7 separate regions of the Homo sapiens genome follow, and all the other regions are linked to region 7. Evidence: promoter capture Hi-C in 16 types of primary human blood cells and fetal thymus (Javierre and others, 2016). All regions are on one chromosome and are shown on one strand. The core of a region is centred on a gene start or on the middle of the fragment in contact, and the rest is flanking DNA. Distances in the headings are between cores, read along the strand shown.

What was found. The method cuts DNA at HindIII sites, captures the fragments that hold promoters and counts their contacts. A CHiCAGO score of 5 or more calls a contact.
Region 1: a contact is called between a fragment that was not itself captured here and the fragment with the promoter of OAT in region 7, in 3 of 17 cell types (monocytes, total B cells and naive B cells). The highest score is 11.8, in monocytes.
Region 2: a fragment that was not itself captured here is called in contact with the fragment with the promoter of OAT in region 7 in 1 of 17 cell types (activated CD4 T cells); the score reaches 5.2 in activated CD4 T cells.
Region 3: a contact is called between a fragment that was not itself captured here and the fragment with the promoter of OAT in region 7, in 1 of 17 cell types (monocytes). The highest score is 5.4, in monocytes.
Region 4: a contact is called between a fragment that was not itself captured here and the fragment with the promoter of OAT in region 7, in 7 of 17 cell types (monocytes, neutrophils, M1 macrophages and 4 more). The highest score is 13.5, in monocytes.
Region 5: a contact is called between a fragment that was not itself captured here and the fragment with the promoter of OAT in region 7, in 1 of 17 cell types (monocytes). The highest score is 5.4, in monocytes.
Region 6: a fragment that was not itself captured here is called in contact with the fragment with the promoter of OAT in region 7 in 1 of 17 cell types (monocytes); the score reaches 8.3 in monocytes.

Annotation. Positions count from the first base shown.
Region 1 is chr10:124,029,230-124,032,854 of GRCh38, reverse strand. The region is part of intron 5 of CHST15 (carbohydrate sulfotransferase 15); the gene reads left to right. Among named protein-coding and RNA genes, the nearest start is that of CHST15, 63 kb to the left of the region's middle. The HindIII fragment of the contact is 5,558 bases long and covers 1-3,625 here.
Region 2 is chr10:124,824,410-124,828,049 of GRCh38, reverse strand. ABRAXAS2 (abraxas 2, BRISC complex subunit) reads right to left here. Exons shown (of 9, transcript NM_032182.4): 5 at 1,265-1,455. Among named protein-coding and RNA genes, the nearest start is that of ABRAXAS2, 24 kb to the right of the region's middle. The HindIII fragment of the contact is 591 bases long and covers 1,261-1,851 here.
Region 3 is chr10:124,048,959-124,052,237 of GRCh38, reverse strand. The region is part of intron 1 of CHST15 (carbohydrate sulfotransferase 15); the gene reads left to right. Among named protein-coding and RNA genes, the nearest start is that of CHST15, 43 kb to the left of the region's middle. RefSeq lists enhancers at 1,235-1,735, 2,777-3,277, 3,278-3,279. The HindIII fragment of the contact is 7,591 bases long and covers 1-3,279 here.
Region 4 is chr10:124,009,207-124,012,820 of GRCh38, reverse strand. CHST15 (carbohydrate sulfotransferase 15) reads left to right here. Exons shown (of 8, transcript NM_001270764.2): 7 at 341-488; 8 at 2,482-3,614. The coding sequence ends at 2,672. Among named protein-coding and RNA genes, the nearest start is that of CHST15, 83 kb to the left of the region's middle. The HindIII fragment of the contact is 4,917 bases long and covers 1-3,614 here.
Region 5 is chr10:124,068,336-124,071,557 of GRCh38, reverse strand. All of the region lies in intron 1 of CHST15 (carbohydrate sulfotransferase 15), which reads left to right. Among named protein-coding and RNA genes, the nearest start is that of CHST15, 24 kb to the left of the region's middle. The HindIII fragment of the contact is 5,512 bases long and covers 1-3,222 here.
Region 6 is chr10:123,960,913-123,964,247 of GRCh38, reverse strand. LOC107984128 (a long non-coding RNA gene) reads left to right here. Exons shown (of 3, transcript XR_001747628.2): 2 at 2,182-2,282. Among named protein-coding and RNA genes, the nearest start is that of CPXM2, 71 kb to the right of the region's middle. RefSeq lists an enhancer at 191-360. The HindIII fragment of the contact is 839 bases long and covers 1,135-1,973 here.
Region 7 is chr10:124,416,622-124,420,263 of GRCh38, reverse strand. OAT (ornithine aminotransferase) reads left to right here and starts at 1,341. Exons shown (of 10, transcript NM_000274.4): 1 at 1,341-1,391. RefSeq lists an enhancer at 152-666 and silencers at 640-1,299, 1,242-1,781. The HindIII fragment of the contact is 6,386 bases long and covers 1-2,670 here.

The sequences.
Region 1 (3,625 bases), core at 148-2,647, 390 kb after region 7:
CAGAGAAGGAGTCAAGTGGCAAGTCCATTTTTTTTTTTTTTTTCTGGAGGAGAACAGAGGAATAATGGAAACAAGTGGATGGGATGGTTCATATGGCCAAAGAAGCCAGCCAAGAATTCATGTTCCAGTTTCCTCTCTGTAAGAGATCATGACAATTTAAAACTAGCTTGATGCATTCCTATGCTAAATTGGCCCAGTTAATTAAAAAGAAGCCACCAATTGCAAGCAGAATTTTTCTTTATTTAATCCCATTCGTAAGTGGTAAAGACTATTCTTTTCAAATGCATCTCACATTAGCCTCCTGCCTCTTCATTTGTGAGACAGTTGATAGTGTTTGTCTCTTAATTCAGAGGCAGTTATAGCCCCCGTTAAATGTGAAAAATGCGTGGAAGGTGCTGGCACCTCCAACCTAGTTGCATTCCTCCTTTATTCAAGGGACATTTGGAGTGGGGTCATGTACCATCTGTTAAGGATTTTACCGTGTCTATGTTTGGGGTTTGATTCTGTGTGTAGTCTTAATGCAATGCCCAGAAACAACCCACCACAGGAATGGTTCATTTTCCCATTCTGTGATGATGAGTCCAAAGGGAAGGAGAACTCAGCTTGGCGAAGAATTCAAACTCGATTTTGACCCAAACCCCTGGAGTCTTGGAACCTGGCTAGTTCTTTTCTTCATCTGCTTATATAAACTGATTTTTTAAACAACCCGTTGGACTGGTCAAATGATTCAGTTATGACGATAAACTAGGAAAGGAAGCAGGCTTTTAATGAAATGGATTCTGTTATAGGCAGTCACTCATGGGGACACAGAGGAATAGCAGGGCTGAACATTTGGGCAGGAATCCTGGTTTCATCAGTTTCACTCTGTCTGCAGAGTGTGTGAGGGGGCCTCAGGGTGGTGCACAGCTTTCACCCGCTGAGTGTCTGGGAGGTGTACCGGGGTCATGGTGGCAGGAACACAGGCATTGGAACCCCAGCCCTGTCACTTACTGCTCTGTAAACTGGGACAAGAAACTTAACCTCTCTGTGCCTTATTTTCTCATCGGTAAAATGGGGGAAGATAGTCCTACCTCCAGGGTAGTGAGAGTTAAATGACTTAATATTTGTAGTAACGTGTTTAAACAGTGCTTGACAAATGGAAAATATGTAACTATTATTATTATTAGGTATCAGTTATTACTAATAATAACAATAAACTGATCACTCATTTACTCACTCCCCAGAGTTGCAAACCACATAACCAAGTTTTGGTCAACAGTGGACCCCATATATGATGGTGGCCCCGTAAAGTTATAATCCCGTGTTTTCATTGTGCCTTTTCTATGCTTCAATACATAAATTCTAACTCTTATGTTACAACTGCTCACAGGATTCCTGCGGTACAGGCTGACAGCATAGGAGCAGTAGGCTGTACCTCGCCACCTAGGTGTGTAGGGGGCTGTGCCATCTGGGTTTCTGTGAACACTCTATGACATTCACATAATGACATCACCTACTGATGCATTTCTCAGAACATATATATCCCTGCTGTTAAGTGACGCCTGGCTGTATTTATTGAACACCCTTGATGTGCTAGATGCAAGCTGTACATAGGAGAGGAAAATCCATCCCGTTTGCTCTCATGGAGCCTCTGTCTAGTTGAGGGAGTAGGGCCAGGCTTCATGTAAATGACTGAGCTGGGGCAGCCCCTCAGAGCTATCTCTGGGTGAGGCTTCTCCCATCCACCCATCATTGGACAGGACCACCTGTGGAGGCTTAACCTTGGTTGCTGCTGGTGGTCTCTTCAGCTGAGGCTCGTTCCCAGGAGGGACTGGGCTGTGAGTTATTAGCAGGATGGCTCCCCAGTTTTGCAAAGCTCTGTAAATAGGAAGGACCCGGTATTTGTGGATGCCTAAGCCTGGATGCACCTCATTCACCTACTTCCACATCAGAGGGAGCAGGATGCCCGCCCTAGGGCAAAAGCCAGCACACACAGAAGGGAGCTGAGCCGGATTCATGCCTTCGAACCGCAGCGGAACTTTGACTTGAGAATCTCTCTTGCTATTCAGGCAGCACCGGAAGCCCCTCTCCAAACAGCTCAACTTCCCCCAGCCCCTAGAAGCACTGATTGAAAGCCCTGGATGTGTTCTCAATCAGAAGAGAGCCTGGCACTGGGAATGTCATGCGATGTTTTCTCTAGAACAGATTTGCACAAGGATTAAAACGCAGGCTGTTCCTAGCACTGAGGGATTCATTATTGATTTAAACCATCTCAAAGGGAAATTAGGAGAACGCCTCTGTGGAGAAGAGACGGAATGAGGAGAAAGCCGTGGGGATGTAGAGGTTGCAGCAATAGCCACGGATCGATTTCTCTTTCTCACCTCTCCCTCCAGCTCTCACTCTTTCCTTTCCTCTAAGATTTTGGAAGATTAAGAATTACAAGGGTCCTTGTGAGGACTACTGTAGTGCGGTGTCTTTATTGAAGCTGCCTATTGATTCCTGGTGGGTTCAGGCATTTTGCTTCCCAGAAGCTGCCTGTTGACACACCTTGATATGGGCCCTGGAAGCGGCACGAGGTCACTTTAATAGGACTGAGCTGTTGAGCCACCTGAGGTCAAGGGGGTTGGCCTCGATCACAGAGCGGGGAGGGAGAGCTGGCAGCGCCCAGGCCAGAAGGACAGCTCGGGTCTTTGTGAAGGGGTTCTCTGAAGACTGTTCAGGAGGGACTGCCTGGTGAGGCGCCACATCTTGTTATTGGTGGGAGAAAAACCACCAAGCTGAAAACTCCCAAGTGCTGAACACTGTTTATGTTTTGGGGAAATGTTTGTGAAGTCCTTGGCAGTCCTGTGTATTCCCACATGATTGTTTGGAAAGGACGGTTCCGAGCAGGAGGAACACTATAGGGAAAAAGAGCTCCGTTGTGTCTGTATCTGCAGAGATCCTAAGGTGAGATGTGTGCCCGCTGGGCTGGGATCAGGGAGGGCACTTAGAAACGACCCTGGGGCAGCCACAGTTCAGGGACCTGTCTCACCCGGAGTTCTGGGCTGCTTAGTGAGGTTGACGCTGTTGAAGGAGGGGGTGGCAGCACATGTCACATACTGGCCCCGCCCCGGTGTGCAGTGGCCATTGCCCTGCAGTGAGGGGCCCACACCCTGCGCCTGGCTTTATAACCAGGGGTAGCCCGCCAATCCTCAGTGCACCCCAGTTTTCTTGCTTGTAGAAACATCTGCCATGAGAGTCACTGGTGAATCACGAGAAGGTGCTTTGTAAACCACGCCAGGCTCGGAGATGTCAGGGATGCTTGGTGTCGCCTCTGAGAAGTGCTGCCTCCCAGTCTGTGAACAGTTACCGGGGCCCTGTGATTGGATGCTCTGGAAGGAACAAAGAGGGGCTGGGAACCCCACTCGTGCACAAGGAACCTAGGGCCTGGTAGGAAATAGAATGGCCCCAACAAACAGGGCACCTGCCATTCATTTGGGCGTTTTTAGGACCAAACATGGATGTTTGTAACTGGCAGAAAATGAGCCTCACCAGTGTCACCCCTGTGTTCAGTCTAAGGTGACCTTGGACATTCCCTCCAGATCAGCTGGCCTGGCCAGTCCTGTCTCATCCAGCCTCCTGATGAGACAGTCACAGTTTGTGATTC
Region 2 (3,640 bases), core at 307-2,806, 410 kb before region 7:
TTTTCCCTTCTGTAAAGTAAAACCTTGCTTATCAACTCCTTGAGAGCACAGGTCATGCCTTACACATCTTTTGTATACTCACAGTGACTGACACAATGCTGAGCCTGTAAGTGCTCAAGAGATACCCACAGATTACATAATGAAATCTTATAAAAACCTTTTTAACAATTAACAATTATTTTCACTGATGTCAATTTAATTTATTCTACAACAAATAAACTTCCAGAGGGAAACCATTTTGCTGTTTACAAACAGACAACATGATCATATAATCATAGGGGTGGTTTTTTTTTTTTTTTGGTTTAACAAGTTCACGATGCAAAACCCTCGTTAACCAGCAGGTGGTTCAATTTCACAATTTTGTATTTGAAATTTATGTTTCAAAATTATAATCAGACTTCCACAGCAATAAAACTACATTTCCACATAGTGGATTATGGAGAAGCAAATGATGATTTCCAGCTATTTATTCCTTATAAGAATTTATGCATAATAAACATGTCTTGTTAATGCTTCTTGATCCAAAAACAATTTTATGTAAATAACTGACAAGAAAAATACCTTCCGTAACCACAAAAAGAGCTAAAGGGAATAATACAAGTTTTTATTTAAAGATGCATAAAGTTTTGGGAGGCCGAGGCAGGTGGATCACCTGAGGTCAGGAGTTCAAAACCAGCCTGGCCAAAATGGGCAAAACCCCGTCTCTACTAAAAATACAAAAAAATTAGCCAGCATGGTGGTGTGTGCCTGTAATCCCAGCTACTCGAGAGGCTGAGGCAAGAGAATCGCTTGAACCTGGGAAGCAGAGGTTGCAGTGAGCCGAGATTGCACCACTGCACTCCAACCTGAGTGACAGAGCTGGACTCTGTCTCAAAAAAAAAAAAAAATGCACTATAATGCACATTTTTGAAGTCACGAATCTCAGTGACTTGTACCAACATCCTTTTTTTTTTTTTTTGAGATGGATTCTTGCTCTGTTGCCAGGCAGGAGTGCAGTGGCACAATCTTGGCTCACTGCAACCTCTGCCTCCAGGTTCAAGCGATTCTTCTGCCTCAGCCTCCCGAGTAGCTGGGAATACAGCCACGTGCCACCACACCCAGCTAATTTTTGAATTTCACCATGTTGGCCAGGATGGTCTCAATCTCTTGACCTCATGATCCATCCGCCTCAGCCTTCCAAAGTGCTGGGATTACAGGCGTAAGCCACCACGCCTGGTCCCAACGTCCTTCTTATATGTGAGGCAGATGGAAAAGCAAGCTTTACCTTCTATTTGGTCTGAAGAGCACATATTCTAAAGCGTGAGTGGAATTGTTGGCAGTGGAGATGAAGCTGAAGAGAAGAAAGACGAGGTCGGGCACGCCGAGGATGCGGGTGAGCTGCTTGTGAAGAACCTGCTCTCTGTAGGACATCTGCTGCTGCGTATTGCGCCGGAATCTGTACCACCCAATGACTTTCTGAAAGAAAAGTGTGAAAAGTTGCATGAAATCTTACAAATTTAATTCTGAATGTATCCATACAAACACACATGCACAAATGTTCATAGTAGCTTTATGTGCAAAAGCCCCACCCTGGAACAACCCAAGCGTCCATGAGCAGGAGCATGGATAAACAGACTGTGCTTCAGGCATATGCTGGAATCCTACTTAGTGATAAAAAGGAACATGAATGAGTCCTAAAATAACTATCCTGAGTGAAAGAAGCTAGACACCTCCTCACTAAAAGAAGTATAGGTTATAGGATTCTATTTGTACAAAATTCTAGAAAATGAAAACTAATCTAGTGACATAAAGAAGATCAGTGGTTAACAGGAATGAGGGGAGAAGGCAGGACTGGAAAGGCACGAGGAAGCTTTTGTAGGTGAAGGAGATGCTCGTTATCTTAATATGGTGATGGTTTCACAAGTTTACACATACATCAAACTTCTAAGAGCATACATTTGAGATATGTGTTATATGTCAATTTTACCTCAACAAATCTATTTTAAAAGTTTAGCTTTTTCAGCTCTAACTATAGCATAACTAAACTGGCTAATGAAACTGTTATGCACTCTGGAAGAATACTTCTCATAATGTGATTTGTTGGTCATCAGGAAGACAGATGACTTCAGAGATATCTGAAAGACTGCTAAAGTGCAGATTCCTGGACCCCATCCCTAAAGTGCAGATTCCTGGACCCCACCCAAATCTGCAGAATCAGAACCTCTCAAGATAGAGCCAGGAATCTGAATTTAAGTAAGTTTCTGAATTTTTCTTTTGCATACTGAAATTTAAAAACATCTGTTTTCAAAACATTTAATTCTTTATTAGAAGATCAATCTTCATACAGCTTCCTTCTTTGAAACCAACTCTGAGTTAAAATCTTGTTTTAAGAAGCAAAGGTAGTTTAAATCTAATAGTGTCATATTAAAATTAAAATTAATAGTAAATTGAGATTGTTTTGACATTTTCATGTAGAAAGTAAGCCAACTTTTGCTGAGGCTAGCATTGTCACAAATATTTTCACTAATTACTACACCACTCTAAGTGAATAATGTTTTCTCCATTGAGTTCATATCATATGCAAAGAACTACAGAGAACAAAGAAATAAGCAATAGTTCCTGACTTAAGGAGTACTACTGAACATAAAACATATCTTCCCATAGATTAAAGCAATTAATTCTGATATCCCTTAAATAAAAAGAAAACCCAAGCCTTTCTCTCAGGGTATAATTTTTTTTTTTTTTTTTTTTTTGAGACAGAGTCTTGCTTTGTCACTCAGGCTAGAGTGCAGTGGCATGATCTCGGCTCACAGCAACCTCCACCTCCTGGGTTCAAGCGATTCCCCTGCTTCAGCCTCCCGAGCAGCTGGTATTACAGGCATGTGCCACCGCGCCTGGCTAATTTATTTTTAGTAGAGATGAGGTTTCACCATGTTGGCTAGGTGGGTCTTGAACTCCTGACCTCAAGTGATCCACCCGCCTCAGCCTCCTAAAGTGCTGGGATTACAGGCATTGAGCCACTGTGCCTGGCCTCAGTATATAATCTGATAGAAGAGATGTTTTGTCCGAAGTTACAGAGCTCATGAGTGACAGCCAAGATGTGGAATCAAGATGCCTGCCTGTTTCCACTGGGCAACACTAACTTTCACATTCTACACTAGACATGATGGTGGCCATAAAAAAGGTAAAAGTAGTTTTCCTTTCAAGAAAACTTGGATACAATTAGATAGAGCTATTGATGCAGGTGAACATAGCACATTTCATTCTAAGATTCAATACTCTGTACCCAACTCCTACTTGGAATGTTGGAATTACCTACTCAGCAGACCTCAGGCATGCCCTGCACTTCCCCTGCCTTCCTGCAAAGACCTGAACAGTGCTCAGCACACTGGCTGTTTTCATGAAATACTCATTGACTAGCAGAATCTTGCAAGGTGGCTATTGGATGACTAATAGTGCTTTTCAGTTATGCCAATTCGAACTATTTTATTTCATTTTTTTTCCTAGCTGCCTTTGTTTTGTTTTTTTTTTTTTTTGGTTTTTGAGATGGAGTCTTGCTCTGTGGCCCAGGCTGGAGAGCAGTGGCGCGATCTTGGCTCAAGCAACCTCCACCTCCTAGGTTCAAGCAATTCTCATGCCTCAGCCTCCTAAGTAGCTGGGA
Region 3 (3,279 bases), core at 451-2,950, 370 kb after region 7:
AAAATGTTCCTTCTCCTACTTGTTGATGAATAGTCCTTGAAAAAATATATTTCCATATATATAGCCTAGAGAGGAATGTCAGCAGTTACACATACTAATCAGAAGAAGGCTTTGTGTTTTAGTAAAGGTTAATTAAGACCCATTGAATTTTTTTTCCTTAAAACATAAAAGAAAAATAATGTAATTAGCTATTTTTTTCCCTCTCTGTCCCCAGAGGGCAAATGTAAATGTTCTACCTAAATGAAGCTATTTGTTTAAATCCATCCAGATTTCTTCTGAAGTTTCATACATCTTTCTTCTGCTATATCAGCTTATAGCTACAATAATTTAATAAGTTTTTCCTAGGGTGAAATTGGATGCCCTTTATCGATCTTACACTGAGGGGGCATTCAATTACTTAATCTAAAGTGGTATTTCTGGGTCTCTCAATTACAATTTTGTTATAAATGGCTTGCTAATGATGCTTGGGTGCATAGGTTAATAGGGGGTGTCCAAGCAAGGGCTGGGTAATTGAACACTTTCTATTTTGGGACCCGTTATCTGATTTCTCTCCTGGTGCCAGGTTCCCACAGTGATGGTCTGCAGCCATCAGGCTCAGAATTGAGCCCAGGTGGGAAGCAATCTCACTGAAATGTATACCTGAATCCTTTGGTTTAATACATGAACGGAAGTGCCAAGGGCCCCGTCTTGTCTGAGTCGACCGGCACCAAATGTGGACATTCCAGACAGGTGAAGTGCAGGGGGCATACATGACTCCTTTCTGAAGGAAGAACCACTTGAGTGTTAGGTTTCTGAATGACTGTTCTTGGGATAATTTGTGGCCTACGGAAAAGGCCAGATACAGAACGTAACAGCAATCCATTTTCCTTTCAATACCACCCCATTAATTGGATTTTTCTTCCCTGAGTTATGTTCTTTAATAGTTATACATAGTAAACTATTCTATACATATTTTACTATGTATATTTACTATACATAGTAAAAATTCTTTTGAGGCCAGGCGTGGTGCCTCATGCCTGTAATCCCAGCACTTTGGGAGGCCAAGGCGGGCTGGATCACTTGAGGCCAAGAGTTCGAGACTAGCCTGGCCAACATGGTGAAACTCCGTCTCTATTAAAAATGCAAAAATTAGCCGGGCGCAGTGATGCATGCCTGTAATCTCAGTACTCGGGAGGCTGAGACAGGAGAATCGCTTGAACCCAGGAGGCGGAGGTTGCAGTGAGCCAAGATCGTGCTGCTACACTCCAGCCTGGGCCACAGAGTGAGATTCCATCTCAAAACAAAAAAAAGAATATGTAGTATGCCTTCCTTCTTGCACTCGAGCAAATCCCACCCCTGACTTTGGCCTTCAAGACTCTACAGAGCCTGGTCCCTGCCTCCTCTCCCATCAGGTTTCCACCCCCACCAGCCTGTGCCCCAGGGCCTACCCTGCCAGTAGCCCTCATGGGCTGGGACTCCCCACAGCGTCTCTCTACGGGGCCTTTGCTTCCCCTGGTCTCCACGTGACTGGCTTCCTTCTTGTTCAGGTTTCTCCTCCAACGTCCCCTCTGAAATCAGGTCTTCCCTGTCACCCTGTGTATCATACCTCCCACTTCTTTAAGGCAGTAGCTCCAACCCAGGGGTGATTATGCACCCCAGGGGGCACTGACAATGCCTGGAGACATTTTTGGTTGTGACATGTCAGGGGAAGGGGTGCTATGGCATCCAGTGGGTGGGGGCCAGGGTGCTGCTAAGCATCCTACTGTGCGCGGGACAGCCCTGACAACAAAGCATGGGCCAGCCCTAGGACGGCACAAAGAATTCCAAAACCCTGTTCCAATGGTTGTATTGCTCTCTCCCCCTTTTCTTTATTCTTTTCTGCATAGCCTTTATCTAGCAGCATCTGTGATTATCTTATTCATTTGGGACTTCTTTATAGCTTGTGCCCTGCAGCCCCTACCCCTGGTGGGACAGAAGCTCCACTTGGGAACAGGCCTCCTCTCTGGGTCAGCCCTGCACCACTCGCGCCCGTCAGGGGAGGTCTTGTCTGGAAGCCGCCGGGCTCTAGGGCCTTCACTTACAAGGGACTCACCTGGTCTTCAGATTGCTTGTCCATCTTACTGAGTATTTGACATACTATACAGTGGCTATCGATTTTGGTAAAAACTTGTAAATGTAAGACAGTTTTATGTTTTTTTCTCAGAGAGGCCCCCACCCCCACGCCCACCGCAGCCCAGGGGTATTTTCCAACACCAGCAAATCCTCCAACTCCAGAACCTAACTGATTATCTTACCATTCAATTCAAGTCTGCCCCTACCAGAGGCAGCCTCAGACTCTACCGGTTTGAGGGCTCGGTCTCACCAGACTGCCCCACTTCAGATGCCAGTCCCAAGTATTGGGTCCCCAGGTTACCCGCACATCTGTCCAAATTGGCTAAAAAGGCAAGAGTGTCCCACAACCTCCTCAGGTTCAGTAATTCACTAGAATGACTCACAGAACTCAGGAGAGTGCTTGACTCATCATCAGTCTATTATAGCATAGAATGCAGAAACAGCCAGCAGATGAGACGCATGGGGCGAGGTATGGTGGAGGAGGGTGTGTGGAGCTTCCATGCCCTCTTCCTCCACTCCACCCTCCCAGCACCTCGAAGGATCCACCAACCTGGAAGCTGCCTGAGCCCTGTGGTTTAAGGGTTTTGATGGCGGTTCCATTACAAAGGCCTGATTGGTTAAATCATCAGCCACTGGTGATTGACTTAATCTGCAGCCCTTATTCCCTACCCGGAGTTTGGGGGGTTTGTTGAAAGCTGCTCACTGAGGCTTGGTCTTTCTGGTGACCAGCCTCCATCCTGGAGCTATCCTGGCCCGCAAAGTGTCACCGCATCAGGATACACTCAGGTATGGCTGAAAGGGGCTTGTCATGAATGACGAAAGGTGCTTCTCTCACCCCATCATTCAGAAAAATTCCAAGGATTTTAGCACCTGTGTACCAGTACCCGAGGATAGAGACCAAATACTCATCTCTTATTTCCACATCACATCCCTCATCTTGTATTGGCTTTTGGTCTCCCCCTACCTGGACATGCGCAACACTCAGCTGTTCTTCAAAAGGTATTTGTTGAACAAATGAATGAATGAATGAAAGAATGCTAGGAGCTGAGAAAACACTGTATCTGAGTGTTTTGCTAAGGCTCTTGCAGCATCTCGAATTGCCTCCTCAGGTCTTTCTGTTTAGGAAGCGGGACTCGCAGAGGCCGGGCTGGTTGGTGGGGGCAGCTGCCCCGCAGACATGCTCTGTGG
Region 4 (3,614 bases), core at 315-2,814, 410 kb after region 7:
ACAGCCAGGATATTGTGCGAGGAACATGTACACCATTGGTGGCCACAACCTTGACCTCTTCCCTGCACTTCAGTCCTTACCTGTGAAATGGAGGCATGGCGCTACCCACAGGGTGTTGTGAGGATGAAATGCAACCCCTAATATAGGAATTCTTTGCACATGTAGCACAAAACCCCCCATAAAGAAGCAAGAACACCTTGTGTTAAAATCCAGCTTCTGAAAGTAACTTTGCTAGGATAACTCTTTTGTGGTACAGTGAAATGCCATACCACTTTGGAAAAGTGCCCTATGGTGTTGGGGCAACTGCTCCTGAAATAATGCCCTTCTTCTGTGGTCCTAGGTGAGGCTCCAGGTTGGGCTCTATGCTGTGTACCTTCTGGACTGGCTCAGCGTTTTTGACAAGCAACAGTTTCTCATTCTTCGCCTGGAAGATCATGCATCCAACGTCAAGTACACCATGCACAAGGTCTTCCAGTTTCTGAACCTAGGTATGAGTGTGGTGCTTAGACTGACGGGCCAAAGCATGAGCTCCGTGGACTTGTTCTGGGAGTCCTCTGGGGCAAATGCAGACCTGGTCAGCTGGGTGGGAATGGGCTGAGCTGGGAGGCCTGGGGATGTCCTTCAGGAGGCCTGTTAAGTACCATTTATTGAGCACTAGCTGTACATAGGTCATTGTGCACAGTATGGTGAGGGATTCTCTGGAGAGAAGGAGATGGTTTCCCTTCTGGGAGCTTATGGTCTAGTGAAGGGAGAGGAGGAAGCCATAGCTCACCTAACTGAATGACAGGTAGGATGCCGTGGGGAAGGTCAGCACTGTCATGTAAGGTATGTGCTGATGGTTTGGGATCCCAGCTACTGCACGGATGAGGAAGGCTTCATGGAAGGAAAGGGCCTGAGAGCTGAGCTTTGTAGGACCAACAGGATGTCACCGGGGGGCTGGAGCAGAGGACTTGGGGCTTAGAGGAGGGAACAGACAGATCATTGCATCATCTCCGGTATTCTTGGAAATTCCAGGAGTCAGAGCCGTGTGGCTGAGTTTTGGCTGCTGATCATGGATGCTGGGCCCCTGGGGCATGAGCGCCTGCCCTCAGCCTGTGGATACCAGCCCCCCCAGGGGCCTGAGAGTCACTTTGTGGTGACAGGCCACACTGCTGACTATGGTGATGGCTGGCAGAGGCATGTGCTGGCGGAGCGAGTGCTGCCCATGTGGACGGGGCACCGAGGGATGGCTTGAAAGGCTGAGCAGGCTCGAACAAGCCGCCCTCCTTCCCAGAACGCCTCCTGCAGCCCTGACTAATGGTCTTGCCCGGGAACTTGGTTAATTGAGTATTTCTGAAAATATATCTGCCTGCCACTGGGACTTGGGCCTCTTTGATCATTTGATTTTGTTTCTCCTTTTTTTGGAGTTTGATGAGTTCTTTCCCTTCCAAGGCTTAGAATCATCTTTCTTTGATTTGACCACATGTTGACTCTGTCCCATTAATGAGCTTGTCTTTTGTCCCCAAGATGGATAGTAAGGCCAATTCTGTGTTTCATATGGCCCTAGGATGCTGGGACATGCTTTTTCTGTCTATGGGCTAAGGACTTTGGCCAGATCCCAAGAGCCCCCGGTAAAGAGGCTTGAGCAGTGATGGGTTACACCAAGAAGCTGTGGCCCAGAGGGCGGGGCGTTGGGGTCGCAGCCCTTGCTGTTCTGTTTCAGGGCCTCTCACTCCAGAGGGCGGGGCGTGTGCGTGACTGACAGCCCCTCCCGGCCTTTTCCAGGGCCTCTCCTCACTCCAGAGGGCGGGGCGTGGCGGTGACTGACAACCTCTGCCAGCCTGTTCCAGGGCCTCGCCTCACTCCAGAGGGCGGGGCGTGGGGGTGACTGACAGCCCTTGCCGGCAGGCCTCTTCTCCCTGATCTCCTTGCTGCAGATGGAGGTTCAGCCAGTGGGGGCTCTGGGCACAAGTGGCCTCCTCCCAGCCCTCCTCCCTATGGCCACTTCACAGCAAGACGCACAGGGTGAAACTGTGCAGGCCCAGGGACCTTGGCATGAGCAGCCTGAAGTAGAAACGATGATGGCGGAATTCCAGAGGGCTGCTGAGCAGGAAAACCGAAACCCGTGGGCTGTGCTCGGCAGGCCGCACGTTCCTCCAAGGACGGGCTGACACCCATGGAGAGCAGCCCACCAAGGGCAATTGGAAGGGAATCCTTGAGGTCAGCCTTAGACGCTGTATCATCATTAAATGCCAGCTGGGCTCCCCCGAGGGTGGGCATCCTGCACCCGCCGCAGAATTTCTTCGCAATTTCCTGATGGTGTTTCCACCTTCCTCCCTCAGTGCTTCCAAAATGGATCCAGCCAAAGAATTTTAATCCCTAAATATGTTCTCTTAAAGGAAACTCCTGTCTGAATACGAAGCATAGCTGGGATTTTTGCAAAGTCCCTTTTACTTCCTGCCATGCCTCCTGCCTTACGGGACTCGTCTTCTTTTATTCTAGGGCCCTTAAGTGAGAAGCAGGAGGCTTTGATGACCAAGAGCCCCGCATCCAATGCACGGCGTCCCGAGGACCGGAACCTGGGGCCCATGTGGCCCATCACACAGAAGATTCTGCGGGATTTCTACAGGCCCTTCAACGCTAGGCTGGCGCAGGTCCTCGCGGATGAGGCGTTTGCGTGGAAGACGACGTGAGAGCTGAATTGTTGCTGCACGTGCTGGGCCCGCCAATGCCGTCATCATCAGGATTTTACAAATCTCTTTGCGGGGAACTGTTTCACTCATGGTATGGAAAACCCCAGGACTCTGCCACTCTAGGCACACATGAATTATAACCATTTTGGAATTTCCTTCGTGATGTTCGAGAGCTCAGCAATGGACCCCTCACAGAGCTCCTCTATCCGAGGCCATTGGAGACCCCAGTTTCTCAAGAATTCAGCTCTGCTCTGAGCGTCCTGGAGCTTGGGGATGCAGCCAGCTGGCCTGCACTGGGTGTGGAGAGAACACCTAGGGAAGGCAGCCTGGCCCTGCCCGCCTCCGCCTTCTGGAGAGCCTCTGGGTTCTGAGTCAGCAAGCCAGAGGTCATGCCACAGGCCTGGCTGGAACTTACACTTCACGTTCCCTTTTTTTCCCCCTAGAGATGGGGTCTCGCCGTGTTGCACAGACTGTCTGTATTCAATGGCTATCTTCACAGGTGTGATCATACCACATTCACTTCTGAAACACTCTTGTTGCGATCGCTAACCTCACTGGGACAGAGAACCGCAGTCTTTCGAGAATGGAGGCTCTTCATTTTTTTTTTCTCCTTTACTCCAAACTCAGCCCTCCAGTTTCTTCAGATGTAAACCCTGTTAACGTCACTGTTTCCAAAAGGAAAAAAATAAGTCAGTTTTTGGCAGCACCTTCATCTTTCTGACCTCCTCCTATTCTGTCCTTGTGGACTTATGTTTAACATAGAAAATGAATGCGTTTAAAACAAAACCACTTTCTGCATTTAACCAGTCCTGGCTCTCTCTCTGCTGCCTCTTCATACGTTTTCTCAAGAACTTCAGTTTATAATTGGAAGAGAAATTTTTGCTGTTAATGCCAGAATGAGCAACCTCAAGGAATTGAACACTTCTTGGAAAATCTAGGTAA
Region 5 (3,222 bases), core at 1-2,500, 350 kb after region 7:
TCGAGTTGAACTACATGAAAATTAACCTCACCTGGAACATTTAACCTAGGTATGGGCTCACACTCTGTTTTTGTTGGGCAGTGCTGCTCTGAGGCACTTTCTTGCTGGAATTTGACTCAGAGTGCTAGGGAGTTGGAGGAGAGGAGAGAAGCCCCAGCTGTGGCCCCTTGTTTGGCTCACGTGGGAGCAGGGTTTCAGGCTGATGGCACACCTGGCCCTATAGATGGCCACAAGGCCACCTGTGATGGGTCTGTTGGGCTCTGGCTGGCCTGTCCATCTCCTTGGGTACTTTGCCCAAAGAGGGAAACTGCCCGTTCCCTCCAGGTAGTGCCTTTAGAAAACGAGAATCTTCTCTAACGCTCTGGGCTAGGAAGAGAGAGCTGAGCACGTCTCACCCTGGGCTGCACTGCATCTCACACAAGTGGGACATGGCCTGCTGCTGGTCAGGGTGAGAACTCTGCCTTTAAGTTAGAATCAGATCAAATCAAATCAAATTGAATTCTTTACCCCAGTGGGGTAGAGAGCACCGCCAAATACTAAGCTACAGGAATGTGGCCCAGAAAGCAAATTAGGTTTTATTTCTGCCTCCTGCCTTTGCCCCGCTGTTTCTGGAAGAGACCCCATAGACAGTGCCGTGAAGGGCAGCCTACGGAGTCTGTGGCAGGCAGGGACTCGCAGGTGAGCCTGGTAGTGGGTCGGCGGGTTCTCATCCATGGTGCTCAGCCCGTCTGAGGTCATCTGCCCTCTTCTTCATTGGATTCTGGAAGCCTCCCCACCAGCCTGCGAGATGCAGCTGAACAGGGACTTGTTTTGTTTACTGCTGCATCCCAGGGCTCTACACTTGAGCCTGACATAGAGTAGGGCTTTAATAATCTTTATTGAGGGCCGGGCACAATGGCTCACTCCTGAATCCCAGCACTTTAGGAGGCCCCGGCCAGACAGATCACGAGGTCAAGAGATCAAGACCATCCTGGCCAACGTGGTGAAACCCCGTTTCTATTTAAAAAAAAAATCAGCTGAGCATGGTGGTGTGCACCTTTAGTCCCAGCCACTCAGGAGGCTGAGGCAGAAGAATCTCTTGAACCTGGGAGGCAGAGGTTGCAGTGAGCCGAGATCGAGCCACTGCACTCCAGCCTGGTGACAGAGCGAGACTCAGTGTCAAAACAAAAACAAAACAAAACAAAAAAACTTTACTGAATGGGTTCATTTGGAGGATGCCCCTTAAATCTGATGGTCAAATATGGCCTTCATGTTGACCTTCCTGAAGTGACATCCCCGTAGGTGGGCATATGCATTTCCCTTGGGAGAGATTCCCAGAGGGGCCTCTGGCTTGGGATTGGCTAGGAACCTCAGACCTACATTGTGTTTTTACTCTAGATCTGTAAGTGCAGATTTTTCTTTTTTTTCCAGAAACTGTTTCTTGGACAACACAGCAACTACTTTCCATTGCAAAGAAAAATCCTGTCCTTTGTGTGCTCTCTACAAAGCACTCACACAGCCAGGCTATATCATTTGTTCCTGACAACGTGCTGGGGGGGACATCACCATTTTCTGCATGTCCCCAGGAAATGGGCGGGACCACTTGTCCAAAGTCCTACAGCTAAAGGGAGGCACAGTGACACCTTAGATTCAGGGGAACTCCCATCTTGGGGTGACTTCTTTGCCCTCAGTATATTCCACATGTCATGGAACCTAATGGATAAATCTGGTTTGGTCAGGCCTGGAGCGCAGAACTGTTAAAGGCAGGCAATGAGAGAAAAATCTGCGTCCTTCCTCGAGGGATGAGCTGGCTGACTGGGAAGGTCCAGGCTCAGGCTGGCCTCTGCCCAGGTGTCCTATGGCAGGGGCTCATGGAGGAGCACTGTTCCTGTTTTCTGGGTCCCCTGCTCTGCCTCACCTGTTTAAAGTCAGTGACTCAAATTTTTAAAACTGTGAAACCGTAAACTGTCCATCCCTGTTCAGCCTTCCCCAGGCCACGGGCCCTGCACGTGTCACTGCTTGTTCATGGTTCTCCCCTGTGTTGCCTTTGAGGCTCACTCATCTTGATGACTCAGAGACTTGCCAGAGACCCTGGACTCCCCGTCCCAAATTCCCCGAGCCTGGCCCCGATGATTCTTGCAATGTTACTCTGTTCATGGTGCCTCTGCCCCATTTCCATCTGTGCCATATCACCAATAGTTGGGGGGGGGGTCCCCCAAACAACAGGGACTAACTTGAACTTTGCAAGACTCTTGAATTTCCTGGCTATATTTATTATCTGTATGGCACTGATTTGTACTAGAGCTGAGCCTGCAGAAGTCAGTTGAACCCATCCTCTCTATATTCAGGAGGACTACAGGATGTAGGAACTCAAACGGGATGTTGATCTGTGGGAGTTTGCAACTTTGCCTAGCAGCACAGACCTGCCTCCTTGGGAGAGGCCTCTGGGGAGGGATGCTAAGCCGATGGATGTCTGTGCAGAGACAAGGGACTGTCCTTTTCACCTGAGAGGCCATTCTCATCCTGCCTAGTCCTGTCTGATTCACATCTGACCCCAGCTTAGCCCAGACAGAGACATGCTAAAGCATGTTCTGATACTTTCTAGCTTCGATTATCTCCTTGTATGCTTTCTTTGTATACTTAGGGCCCAAAATACCATAAGGTGGAACATTCTAAAGTAAAAATGATCCCCTTTTTATTGTTTGAAAATTTGTGTTTCTTATTAAAATAGAACATTTTACAGTTATTCACAAGATAAGGTCTTACTTTAAAAATCACTATTTTCCTCTGTCTTTCTGACTTCTTTTTTTAATTCAAGAACAGGGATATTAAGGCAGGTGATGAAAGCAGAATTTTTAATAAGAGCATAGTGATGCTTTTCACAACGGACTTAGAAGACATTAAAATATATGTGTTTTGATCTTTTTCTGGATTTGAATATGAAGGACTAGTTATTGCAACAGACAGCAAAGTAATTCATTTCGGATGCATTTCAGCAAGCCAGCCCTCTAGGAGACGCTGGAATAAAATGTGGAAGTGTGTGACACAGACCAGACTGGACATGTACCCGGCCCATCAGCTAAAAAGCCAAAGAGCAGGTGGAAACAGGAATAACAGTGACAGTGATGGTTACCATGATGAGGAGCACTGCCAACGATTCCTGAACTTCCCAGGTGCCCTGTCCTTGCTTGGTGCTTCCCATGGATTATCTCAGTCTTCCCTGTGGCTCCATTAGACTACATA
Region 6 (3,335 bases), core at 305-2,804, 460 kb after region 7:
AAATTAGAAAGCAAATGTATGTGGGGAGGAAGGAGGTGCTGCCAGAGGGCATGTCTAGCTGTCTCTTTTGGAAATTAAGGAAGAGGAGGTCTAGTTTGGCCCCTAAAGTCATACTTCCCCTTGGGGCTGCAGTTTTTAATCTGATATCATTAACCAAAGTCACTGCAAAGCTCCTCCCAGGGCTTTGATTTGAGGTGAGTGGGAGCCCCCTGTCTTCTTGGGGGTTGGGTGATTGTTGGATGACATCAGAGAAGCCCAGTGTTCCAGGTCAGAGCCTTACTCTCCCTGCAGGCTCCCCACCTCTGTCCACCAGAGGATTTCCTGTCGCGTCTGTTTGCTTATTGCTTCTCAGATAAGTTTTCATTTGAAACAGTGGTCTGAGGCTCTAAATCATTTGAAAGTCTTCTCTCCCAGTGTTCAGACAATTCCCCTGGTTCTAACATTTGGTGATTCTGCAAGAAGCCTTCATGCTAGGGCAAACAACTCTCCCACTTTGCCCAGCGCCGTGGGGTTTCTGGACATGGGACTTCTAGTGCTGAAAGTCCCAGGAAAACCAGGCCAATTGTTCATCCTCTCACATTCTCACTTGAGTAGCTTATATTTTGAGCCATGCTTGTTTAGAGAAGGGAAAGACACCATTTAGAAAGCCCCTTCAATGCCTAAGTGTCAAGAAAAATGGGATCCATCACCTAGTCGAATAGTAACACTGGATGAGAAGGGAGGGAAGCTGGTGCCCATATGTTTTGAAAAAGCAGCATTTACTTTAACTTTGAAATCTCAGAGCAGTCCCCAGGCAGGATGGGAAGCCAATGGGGCCAGGGCTGGTGCAGCTGATGGGATCTGAAGGGAAAGAAGAGCTTTTAAAAAGGAGAATTTCACACTGAATCTCTTAATCTGTTTTACAGACTCATAAAATCTTAATATAGCCCCGAGACTGTCATGTTTACAGACAGTGCAGCAAAGGCAGTGGCTTGGAGTGTGACCAGAGAGTTTGCAGAACAAACGCACCAGGGAGGGGCTTGGATGGAAATAACCAAGCGCTCTCCCCGCAGGGTAAGGCAGGACAGCCGGGCAGCCCCCGTCTGGTTCCCCCAACTGTGAGCAGAACGCTGGGCTACAATCTAGGCTGAAGCTTCAGTGTACTGGCTTTTAGCAAAAAGCCCCCATACTGCTCCTGGGGCAGAGGATGGTAAGATGCCAACTCCTGACACATCCATGACAGTGTGTGATGCAGGTGGAGCTCCAGTCCAGTGGACACACCTGTGATAGATTTGAGAACGCCTGGAGGTTGGAGGTTGCTGAGAACCCAGTGTTGCTAAGAGGGTCACAGGCACTCAGAAGACAGGGAGGTTCCGGTGGGCTTCCTGGAGAGGGGCCCTGGGCTGGGCTCCACAGCATCTGGGAAGGCAGAGGGCATTTCTGGGGGAGAGGGCATGAGCAAGTACGGGGAGGCTGGATGGGCACAGCACAGGTGAGGGCAGCAGAGGCAGCACCTGGAGAGAGGGCTTTTGTTGGGGGAACGGTGAGAGATAAGCTCACCCTAGTCCTGGCTTTGGAGATGAGAAGAAGAAACAAAAATGAAGCAAAATACTTGTCACTGTAGAGGAGCTTACAGTCCAGACGACCTGGGAGAAATGAATTTGAAAACAAAGGAAGATTTAGGAGCTGCGCCTGTCAATGTCAAGGTCCAGCCTGAGCCATGGAAAAAGAATAGAATTGGAGTAAGCCCTGCTGGAGGGCAGACGTCTTCTTCTCTCTGTACTCCCTGCCCATCCCAGGAATCTGGACACTGGCGTACTTCCGTGTTAACATAACGGCTTTAAAATTTTTCCCGTTATGAGCTTTAAAGAAGTAATTTCCAAATATTGGTCTTTGTGGAAAAAATGAGAAAAGAATCAAGTTTCCCTGGTCTAAGACTAAATGTGAAAAGTAAAGAAAATATAGTGAGTTTTTTTTTTTTATAAAGCCAAGCTTATTTAATTTGGAGTATCCTTTACACAGAGATGATGCTGTTCCTATATTTTTGTGTTCAGCTGGCTTTCTTTAATGGAATCATGGCCTGTGAATTAAAATTAAAAGTATTGGTTTCTGAAACCCTAAAGGCTGGGAACTACTGTTTTAATGGCTGATTGTCTCCATTTCTAAAATATATATCAATATATTTTGACATATGGACACTAGGCGTCAGGAAGACAGAAGAAGCTGGACAGAAAGAGATCAAGATTTAACTGGTTATGCTGTAGACCATGGCAGATCGTAACAGAAGACAAAGCCCTTAAAAGGTAAACCTCCTTGGCTCTGTTCCCTGGAAGAGGTGGGTTATTATGTTGATGGGAGGTGGGTACAAATTGGGAGGGATTTGGATGATGCTATAAGATTGGAAGCTACGAAATTTTTGTGAATGTTTATTTCTTTGAGCTAGGCTTGGGATGGGGAAGACTCTTCTCTCCTTTGTTCCAGACATGAGTGAGATCAGAAAGTCTCCTAGACAACAAGAGCTGGCCCCCTCTGACACTTCTGTGTCACACTCCGTCTGAGCTTTCTCTGGTCTTGCCCTTTTCCTAGGGTTAGAGTCCAAAAGCCAAGTTGACATGCCAACTTGGAGCTCATGCCTGTGTAGGGGAGGAAAATAATTTCTCTCTACTTTTCATAGTTTTTAGTTGGGACAGACCCCTGTAACAAAAGACAGATTAACAAGAGAAAAACAGAAGTTTAATAACAAGTATACCCTCATGCATAGATGGGAGGTACTCAGAAAAATGAATGAATCTCAAAGAGGTGGCTTGGAATTCAGGCTTAAAAACTATTGTCTATGGAAACTAAGAAACAAGGGCATGGGGAAGGCTGGTTATGGGAAGAAAAAGCACAGTAAACAAAGAGTAATGTTTGTATTTGCAGATCTGAGTCAGCGCCTTCTCCATTGATAAGAGTCTTTAGTGATTTGAGTCCTGGTACAGAGAGGGAGACACTCTTACAGATGGAGATTTCACCTTTTATAGATATAAATTTCCCTTACACAAAGGTAGCTGCCACTTTGTTTTCAGAGCATCTTTTGTGTCTGTAGCTTCTCAAAATAATAAGCTCAAAATAAGTCTTAAGCCAAAGAGGCATACTTTGGAGTAGCATTTTCTGGTCTCCTACACCTCTGCCTTCTAGACAATGCTCCAATTCCTGGAACATTGGAAAGCCCCATCCAAATGACCCTGTGTTAGTCTGAGTTCTCCAGAGAAACAGAACCAATAGGTTACACACCCACATATTTAAATGTATATATATTATATAAGAAGCATTTATTATAAACACTTTATTATAAGGAAGTGGCTCACGTAGTTATA
Region 7 (3,642 bases), core at 92-2,591:
TGGGTTCTGGAATTCTGGAAACCCCACTTGGAGGCCGTTGGGCCTAGGATGGATAATGGCCCTCGCTGGTGCATGAGACCCAGGTTATTTCTCCATCCCTTGTGGTTTACTTGCCTACATTGATTGATTGATTGGTTGATTAAGATAGATGGTCTTGCTTTGTTGCCCAGGCTGGAGTGCAGTGGTGCAGTCATAGGTCACTGCAGCCTCAACCTCCTGGGCTCAAGTGATCCTCCCACCTCAGCCTTTGGAGTAGCTGGGAACATAGGTGTGCCACCACACCAGATTAATTTTTATTTTTTTTTGTGGAGACGGGGTCTCACTGTGTCGCCCAGGCTGGTCTGGAACTCCTGGGATCAAGCAATCCTCCTGCCTCGGTCTGCCAAAGTGCTGGGATTACAGGCATGAACCACGGGCCCCCACCACCACGTTTTAGGAAATGTTCACATTGGAGTGTGCCCTCTGTTTCCAGCTGGGCCCCCGACTGGTCATTGTGGTCTAATGGAGTGTGGTGCCGGCAGCTGCCAGCGCCTGCCCTCTGAGAGGGGTGGCGAGGGGCACACAGGACCAGACTGCCCCTACTGTTGGATGACTGGGTAAGTCGCTTTCCTTCTCTGGGTCTCTGTTTTCCAATATTTAACATCTTGTTGTGGGCTAAGTGAAGTCCAAGTCCCTTCCGATTCTAACATGAGGTTGTCCCGGAATATCTATTTTGTGTTCTGAATTTAATAACCGGCTGTGGAGGGCACCACAGGCAAATCTGTACTGTGAGTGGGTTGCTGCCACTCAATTATCTGACAGCAGCTGCGAACAGGTGGGCAGTGTGTTTTCCATAGGCAGCGACGACTTTTGGAGGTGGATTCAGAGGCACAACTAAGCCGCGCGGCGCATCAGGGTTCAAGGGCATGGGGCTCCCGCAGCTGTGGCTGGGGCAGAGCTGGGGCTGGTCCCTCCCTCCAGGAGCACAGGGCGGGCGGTCCAGCCTCACGTCTCTCGGCCTCCAGCCACACCCGGCCCGCGCAGTGGGGGGCCCAACAGACTTTTCCTTTTCGGGCCTCAGTCTTCTCGTCAGCAAGGGCGGACAAGGACTCTTCTCGTCCCGCCAGAGGAGGCGACCGAGGGGCCTGAGCTCAGGTACAGGCCGGCGGGCTCAGGAGGCGCGAGCGCGGATCGAATCCGCGGGAGGAGCAAAGATCCTTGATGCGCGGCCGGAGGGCGGGGCGGAGGACGGGACCCACGCGATTGGTATCCTGCCCTCCGCCCCAGCCAATGAGCGGCGAGGGTGTCTTGGGGGCGGGGCAGAATCAGCCTTTAAGTTGCAGTGACTCTCCGGCGTCACTGTTGCGCTTCATAGACGCCGCGTGTACCCGGTTGTCCTCAGGCGCTGTCAGGTACCGTCTGGGCGCCGCTGTCCTGGGGCTCTGGTTCGGGCCCTGGCCGGGGTTCCCTGACAGCGGCGGGGGAGGCGGGCGGGCGCGGGGTGGCCGCGGCCCGGGTTCGGGGGATGCTGGCTGAGGGGGCGCGCTGGGCCTCGGCCGGGGAACGAGCCCCGCTTCAGCGGCCCGTTTACTCTGCGGGCGGCTCGGACCCGGGCGCCCTGGAGTCTCCGGCCGGCGCGCAGCTTCAGGGGGCAGGGGCGTGGCGACCCACGGCTTGCAGGCCGGAGTCCTGGTTCCAGCCCAGAGCGGCCGACGGGCGGGCGGCAGGGAGAGGCTGAGGATGTGGCAGCCCCGCCTGCCAGACCGGGCGGAGCCGCCGCCCCCTGCGCTCGCGGCCTGTGGAGGCCAGGACTCGGCCCACCCGGCCCAGAGACCCCGAGGCGCCCCGGGGTTCCGGGTAGGAGGCCTTTGGGCACCCTTGGTTCCTGGGGTTGGCGGGGAGGCTGCGTTCTGGGGACGGGGGAGCTGTGCAGTAAACCGGTGGCCCTGGTCACGCGGCGGGGGCGCTGATGCAGCCTTGGAGGGCTGGGTCCTCCCGGCCTGCTCCTGCGCCCTGCAGATCGGCCTGCCCATCGCTCCCCTCTTCCAGCCTATGATTTTTTTTCTCCAGCCTCTGTCGAAATAAAGAAAATTACGGAAGCAGAACCTTCCTTACAGTAACGTGCAGGTTAATTAGATGGTGGGGGATGGGGGGGCAACAGGACTTTCAGCATGAAAACCTCCCGTTGGGGGCTTTTTGCAAACCCTGCTGAGCATCAGTAAATGGGCCTGGCCAGTGCGTTTCCTCGATCGCCTTCCCGGGCGGGACGGGAGGGGTCATTGTCCGCCCTTTGCTGGCGAGAGGACTGAGGCCCGAAGTCACCTGGGCACTCGCCCTGTGACCCACCGTCTCCTTTTGTCACTCTACATCTTACCTTTTCGGTGTTCAGTTTTACCTCTTAGATAAATTACGGTGATAAATTAAGGGCGAACAGACAGTGACTTTGGAATGAAGTGGCTTTACCTTAAGAAATGACTAATGTTCAGTTTCCAAATTCTAAATTTCTCCTTCTGGGATTGAAAGGGTTTCTGTGGATAAGCTAGTTCTTTCAGTTAACCCCGGAACTGTTCTTTAGATTGTAATCAATCGCTCTTAGCCATGTGAAATAACAATAGACTCCTTTCATTAGAATATCCTGGTTCTGTCTTTAGATGAATCTTTTCATAAAAACGAGCGTTAAATTAAAAAGCTTATTTTTAGCCCGGCACGGTGGCTCACACCTGTGTAATCCCAGTATTATGGGAGGCCCAGGCAGGCGGATCACCTGAGGCCAGGAGTTTGAGACTAGCCTGGCCAACATGGTGAAACCCTTTCTCTACTAAAAATACAAAAATTAGCCAGACATCGTGGTGCGCGCCTGTAATCCCAGCTACTCGGGAGGCTGAGGCAGGAGAATTGCTTGAACCCGGGAGGCAGAGCTTGCAGTGAGTTGAGATCGTGCCACTGCACTCCAGCCTGGGCGACAGACTCCGTCTCGAAAAAAAAAAAAAAAAAAAAAAAAGCTTATAGTTTTGGGTTTACAGTTTTTCATGGTGTTTAAGATTAGTTTTGCATCCCCCCCCCAAAGAAAAATCCAGTATAACTTTAAATAGTAAACATTTTTAAAAGACATTTTTCCCTCAAAGCAGCTGTCTTAATATGTATTATCCCCATAGCGTGCCTTTATTACAGTTATTTGTGTGCATATTTTATGCCCTTTAGTGAGTTCTTGAGGACCTTTCAAATCTCAAACATTTACAAATAGTGATGAATGCACGAATTTGGATGTGTGTGGAGGATGTGCTGTAGTTGACCCCGGTCCTTTCTCAGTAGTAAAACTAGTTGTTTGCCAATGATGCACTTGGCTTGAATTTTAGCCAGAATACTGATTACGTCAAAGAGACTTCTGTTGGTAGAACTTTTTTTTTTTTTTTTTTTTAAAGGCCTGTATTTGTGAATGGTTACCTCAGGAAAAGTAAATATTTGTCAAAATAGCAAGAACAAATTTACTCCTCAAGTTGAATATTTTAAGTGGCTTTTGGACAACTTTACGCCGACTATTCTTTTAGAGTAAGAAAATAGTTTTTAAGAGTATAGGCTAAATTAACTTCAAAATGCAGCCTTTTGTGGAAATTCTACTGTAGGTATGTTCTAATGTAGATGGATGGGCTAGATGGAGGGAGT